Regions from separate parts of the Homo sapiens genome. Here region 1 is linked to region 2. The links are contacts of gene promoters, found by promoter capture Hi-C in human tissues and cell types (Jung and others, 2019). All regions are on one chromosome and are shown on one strand. The core of a region is centred on a gene start or on the middle of the fragment in contact, and the rest is flanking DNA. Distances in the headings are between cores, read along the strand shown. Region 1 has its middle 88 kb from the start of SOD2. Region 2 holds the start of RSPH3 (radial spoke head 3).

Region 1 (3,336 bases), core at 137-2,636, 610 kb before region 2:
TTATGCCAATAAATTTGACAACTTAGATGAAATGGGCACATTCCTTGAGAGATGTAAATTACCAAAGCTCACTCAAAAAGAGATAGATGACTTAAATAGTCCTGTATGTATTAAAAACATTGAATTCGTAGCTATAAAATTTCCCACATAGAAAACTTCAAGCACAGATGGTTTCACTGATGAGTCATACCAATTATTTACAAAAAAAATTATTCCAGTTCTACCCAAATTCTTCCAGACAATTAAAGAAGAGAGTACTTCGTATGTCACACTGTGAAGCTAGCATTACCTTATAATAAATGATAAAGGATAATAAAACCAGACAAAGACATTATAAGAAAACTACAGACTAATATCATCATGAGAATAGTTACAGAAATTCTTAACAAATTTTTAGTAAATTGTATCCAACAATATATAACAAGAATGACATGTTATAGCCAACTGGAGTTTATCCTAGGAATGCAAAATTGGTTTAAAATGTAAAAATCAAACTGTATAATTCACCACATTAACAAACTAAAACAAAAACAACAAAATATCATAGCAAAAACAAAAAAAAAAACCTAAAGTCAAATCATGTTTTCATTGCAATAGACCAAGAGAAAGCATTGTCAGATTCAGTATTCATTTATGATAACATCTCTCAGTTAACTAAAAATAGAAGGAAACTCCAACCTGGTTAAAGGTGTTGATCCAAAAAACCATTTCTATTCTCATTTGCCTCGTAAACAAGTACCGCACAGAGCAGCGGATATAGTGGAATTAGTTTAAGCTTCTAGGTGAGAAATAAACTTGAATTCAAATTATGGCTTTTTTAATGCTGTGATCATAAACAAATTACGTAGCCTTTTTGGCTGGTCATGGTGGCTCATGCCTATAATCCCAACACTTTGGGAGGCCAAGGCAGGAGGATCACTTGAATCCAGGCATTCAGGACCAGCCTGGGCAACACAGTGAGATCCCATCTCTAATAATAATAATAATAATAATAATAATAATAATAATAATAATAATAAAAAGTAAATAAATAGCCTTTCTGAGCTTGAGTTTTCTTATTTGTAAAACAGATAATGAAGCCTATGTTTTGGAACTGTTTGTGGTACAAACAAGTTATCTTATGTCACTGCCTGGCACTGCTTACACACATTAAGTACCCTTCCCCTTTTTTTGTTCACCTGGTTCTGATGAGGGTGAGTTGGCAGTTTTCAGCATCTTTATTAGACACAAATGCTCACTGCAGATCTGCTTTGGGTGAGGCCTCTATGGGTTTCCTCTAATGGATTATAAAAGCATTCATCTCCTCCATTATGGAATGATCTGGTAGGGTGGAATGGGGAAGAGGTTAGGAGGCAATTAGAGGAAGATAGAACATCCCTAGTCTTCAGATGGGCTCTTTCTGGAAAACTCAGCTAGGGTTTTGGCAATAGACTCTTGTCCTGGACTTGCAGAGCAATGGGTGTTCAAGCTTAGATTTCTATCTAAGGTTACATTTCAGGGCAGAACACGTAGGATGCTAATCCATTGAGACAAGTATCTTTACAACTCAACAGTGAGGACAACTTTTAAGTTCCAAAATGCTCTGATAGAAAGCACTTTGGGAGGCTGAGGCAGGTGGATCACCTGAGGTCAGGAATTCTAGACCAGCCTGATCAACATGGTGAAACCCCGTCTCTACTAAAAGTACAAAATTAGCCAAGCATGGTGGTGCATGCCTATAATCCCAGCTACTCAGGAGGCTGAGACAAGAGAATTGCTCGAACCCAGGAGGCAAAGGTTGCAGTGAGCCAAGATCATGCCATTGCACTCTAACCTGGGTGACAAAGCTGGTCATTTATATGCAGTTAGTCCCATCCATTGCCTATAGGGCTACTATACTGTACTTAGTAATGGGGACATATTTGGATTTAGGTTTGCCAGAGGCTGGTATTTAATTTTTGCTCACTAACTGCATGCTCCTTGGTGATTCTGAGGGCAACATAGGGCTTCCAAAAGAGGTGTATTCATCACATTAAAGAAGAAGAGATAACTTGATGGCTGGGACCAGCAGGGCCCCTGCCTGCCAATAAGCACCTGTGTCAAGTACTACATTCCATGATGCACACTGGCATATTAAAAGCTCCAAGAAACCTGGCAGTGGAGACAGAAGCTGACTTCCAAGACAGAGGTTTGCGTCAACAAGACATTGACATGGCGGCTGTGAGAACCAGAGGAACATCCCCCTACACACACACACACCCACCCACAAACACACACACACCACACCATGTACACACCACCCCTATCATCCACACACACACACCACACACACGTTCACACCACACACCACATACACATACATACTATACACACCACATATGCACCACATATACATTCACACCACACACACACACTGCACACACGTTCACACCACACACCACATACACATACATACTATACACACCACACACCACACATCCACCACATATATATTCACGCCACACACACATTCACACTACACACATTTACACCTCACACACAGCCGTGACGTCAGGCCTGAGATGCCAGTAGGGAGAAGGCAAGGAGGGTGAAGAATGGTCTGGAAAGAAATGAGGATAACATGAAACAGATGAAGTTTTAAACCAGGAAGGGCTTCTCCTGTTAAGTGGCCTGCTAACCATGGGCTCCCCTGAAGCCAGAGGGCCATCGCTCACTCTTCTGGGCCCTCAAGGTAGAGTGATCTTTCCACGTTTCCTTATTTCATAGGACTGTGTAAATAGCACGAGGGAAATACTGACTCAAGAGGGTACATTTTTCAGTTTGTAGTGAAAGTGTTATTTCTCTGTCAGAATGCATGATGTCCTTCAGCCTCCTAGCCTGTCACCCCTTCTATGGGATAAAGAACTTCATAGACAAAAGGGGGTAAAGAGATTTAAACATTTTTGTGAAGACCTTTAAGTGTGCAGAGAAGAAGGGAGAAGTGAATTCCATAACATGATACCCATGATGAGGGAGAAGATAGAGCTGGTGTTTGAAATGATCAAACATTTCAAAGATTCAAATATCAGACACACAAAATAGAAGATTATGAAAAAACTCATAATGTTAAGGAGGCAAAGCAGAATTCCATCCTATTTCTATTTTTATTTGTTTAATGTTTATTTTAGGTTTGGGGGCGCATGTGAAAGTTTGTTCCATAGGTAAACACGTGTCCCGGGGGGTTGCTGTACACATTATTTCATCACCCAGGTACTAAGCCCAGTACCCAATAGTTACCTTTTCTTCTCCTCTCCTCCCTCACCCTCCCCATGCAAGCAGACCCCAATGTCTGTTGCTTTCTTCTTTGTGTTCATAAGA
Region 2 (3,348 bases), core at 558-3,057:
AAAAACTTGTACAGGCCAGGCACAGTGGCTCACGCCTGTAATCCCAACACTTTGGGAGGCTGAGGAGGGCGGATCACCAGGTCAAGAGAACAAGACCATCCTGGCCAACATGGTGAAACCCCGCCTCTACTAAAAATACAGAAATTAGCTGGACGGGGTGGCACACGCCTGTAGTCCCAGCTACTCAGGAGGCTGAGGCAGGAGAACCACTTGAACCGGGGAGGCGGAGGTTGCAGTGAGCCAAGATCGCGCCACTGCACTCCAGCCTGGCCACAGAGCGAGACTCCATCTAAAAAAAAAAAAAAAGAAAGAAACTTGTACAAGAACCTATAGTGGCTATCAATTTCTTTATAAAGCCCACTGTGGCTGGTATAGCACTATTGTTTACCCACTTAATACCCACTCAATTCTGCCCCAACATCCTCCTAACAGAATTTGTTCTCCTCCTCCCTGGCCAAGTGTTTCTTGGAGGCCTAGAAAGACCGGTTACCTGGTCTAATCCAAATATGGTGGTCTTATATAGATCCTAAGCTTAAATCAATATGATGTAATTCTGGTCAGTTGGGAGTTTACGAGGGGGTTTTGCTCTTCCAATAAAGACAAAAGAGCAGATACTTCTATTACTACTTTGTTGAAGCCAACAACCCAGGTGACAGAGTGGAAAGGTAGGGGAAAAAACGTGTTGTTGATAATGTGCTGAGCCCCCAAGTTACCCTCCAGGTTAACCAACCTGGGGAGTGTAAAATAATGAATTCCTTATTATTTCAGCCACTTGGAATTGGTTTTTTGTTACTTGAGGGAAAAAATATTCTAATTAATATGCTAGTGTTTACTGTTTCCACGATGTGGTGTCAGCCTGTCTATATATATTTCTACAACTCATCTACACAAACCTTGCTTACAGTTTTCCAAATGCACCTTGGGCTTCTTGAGCCTTTGATCAAGCCATTCCGAATGCACTTCCCCCAAGAGGCTGGCCAGTTAAAATACTATCATTTATCAAACACAACTTAAATGTCACTTTCTCCTCTAGCCCTTTCAGAAATTACCTCAAAATTAAATGATCAGACCTAAAATATGTTGGGAGTGTTTTCACCTCTAGAATTTACCATACACCTTTATGCTAGTGTTACTTATAGAATGCCTACATCTGCTTTAGGTCATACACTTCAAAGCACAGAACGGTCCAGATCTTAATATAAAGGCTTGCCATTTACCAGGCACAGCTCTAAGTATTAACGGTTTTAATCCTCAAGACAAAACCTAAAGAGATAAATTCTTCTATTGCCACTTTGTGGATTAGGAAAATGAAGCACAAAAACATTTAACTTGCCTGAGGTTTCGGAGCTAGTACATTCTAGAACCTGGATTCAAATCAAGACAGCAATTAGCTGAATGAAGGTGTAACTGCAAATGCAAATAACTGATCACAAGGGATACACATTCACTCATACAAGATAGAAGATTTTTAACGTTGCTGGTACTAAAACCAAAGCGTCTGCGTTTTTAAGCGCAGCCCCACCCCGCAATACTAGAGACATTCTTTAGAGCTGGAAGCCTGATAGATTAAGGGGAACTATGCCTTTGTATTTTTTAAGACTCAATAAATTGCTCACTTCTTTCCCAAAATGAGGTGTCTGTGGGGGAGGCCCCTGTCGCTCCGTGTGCCAAGGGTCCTCCGATTGCTAGCACACAGCGGTGAGCAGAGAAGGTAGGTGAGGAACTGCACTGACTCAGCTGCAGAGGGCGGCGGCAGCCCGCCCCTGGGGCGGGAGAAGGGCAGGAGCCGGGAGACACCAGGAAGCTCTTCCCCGCCCGGGCACGTAACAGAGCTGGGAGCCTGGCTGCCAGGGGCGTGTTATCGCGGGGGCAGCCTGGGAGCGCTGCTGCGCCGCGGCAGGAGAAACAGCCGAGGACACCCTGGAAGAGCAGGAGCACGTGGGCCTGCGAGAATGGCGCCAACACCAGCCCTGCAAAGCCACATTCCAAAGCCGGGCCAAGGACAGCCACCGTTGCCCCGCAGGCCTCAAGGATGACGGTCAAGCCAGCCAAGGCCGCCTCCCTAGCCAGGAACCTCGCAAAGCGCAGGCGCACCTACCTGGGTGGCGCGGCTGGGCGGAGTCAAGAGCCGGAAGTCCCTTGTGCCGCAGTCCTTCCCGGGAAACCTGGGGACCGGAACTGCCCGGAGTTCCCGCCCCCAGACAGAACCCTGGGTTGCTGGGCAACCGATGCGGCCCCCGCAGCTGGTCTCTGTGGTGCTGGGAGCGAGCCCAGTATAGCTCCCACCTCCTGCGCTGGTAACCTCCCGTCCCGCCCGCCTCCCTTGTTGTCGCCTCTCCTCGCGTCGCGGAATCCTTGCCCTTGGCACTACTTACATCTCTCCGGGTCCCACAACACCTTAGCGCCCACCTGCTTCAAAGCCAAGCTCCACCGAAAGCGAGGCAGTCAGCCCCCGGACATGGCCTCAGCGCTGACTGATCGCACCTCTCGGGCCCCGAGCACCTACACCTACACCAGCCGGCCCCGAGCACTGCCCTGCCAGCGCAGCCGTTACCGGGACAGCCTGACGCAGCCGTGAGTGACCAAGCCAGCCCCTGTGTGGTCCATACTTGCACCCCATCCCCAGGCCGGGGTCTGGCCCCTTCGCCCTGGCAAAAAAGCTGCTTATGCTGTCTTCCCTTGGCTGCACTCTGCCGAAATAAAAGTTCTGCCCTAAGGAATCTCCCGTGGTGTGGAGGAGTGAAGCAGGAAGGGGCATGGGTTGGGCATCAGTTAACTTTTAGTGATATGAGTTGCTGCCGTGGTCCTTAACATGTACACGAATTGGCTCATTTCACAAAGTTTGAATTGTACCAGTGTGTATTGAGGGCCAACTACGTGCTGAGCACCTTACGGGGGGCATTCAAATACGTTTTCTTAGTTAATCCACAGTGCTGTGAAGTTGATTTTATAACTCCATTATGCAGATGAGGAGACCGCGGTGCAAAGATATCCAACAGTAGCATATCCAAAATGGGAGCCGAGTAAATCTCTTCGGCAGGCTTTGAGCAGGAGTAAGATTATTCTTCCATGCAGGACCACAGATTGGTTTTTTGTGGTGGTGGTGGTGGTGGTGGTGGTGGTTGCTGTTGTTGTTTTGAGACGGAGTTTCGCTCTTGTCGCCCAGGCTGGACTGCAATGACGCGATCTCCGCTCACTGCAACCTCCGCCCCCCTCCCCCACTCCTCCCCGATCAAACGATTCTCCTGCCTCAGCCTCCCAAGTAGCTGGGACTAGAGGCGCCCTCCACCACCCCCGGCTAATCTTTGTATTTTTAGTAGAGACAGGGTTTTGCCACGTTGGCCAGGC

What was found. Contacts are between HindIII fragments. The study calls those that stand out against the background at their distance.
Region 1: a fragment that was not itself captured here is called in contact with the fragment with the promoter of RSPH3 in region 2 in 1 of the 25 tissues and cell types used here (H1 embryonic stem cells).

What each region holds. Positions count from the first base shown.
Region 1 is chr6:159,603,821-159,607,156 of GRCh38, reverse strand. No RefSeq gene overlaps it. Among named protein-coding and RNA genes, the nearest start is that of SOD2, 88 kb to the left of the region's middle. The HindIII fragment of the contact is 4,798 bases long and covers 1-3,336 here.
Region 2 is chr6:158,998,661-159,002,008 of GRCh38, reverse strand. RSPH3 (radial spoke head 3) reads left to right here and starts at 1,807. Exons shown (of 8, transcript NM_031924.8): 1 at 1,807-2,574. The coding sequence starts at 2,459. It overlaps TAGAP-AS1 (TAGAP antisense RNA 1), which reads right to left and starts at 2,136. Exons shown (of 5, transcript NR_183546.1): 1 at 1,617-2,136. RefSeq lists enhancers at 1,499-1,548, 1,121-2,092, 1,959-2,118, 2,289-2,358, 2,389-2,438 and 2 more. The HindIII fragment of the contact is 9,808 bases long and covers 1-3,348 here.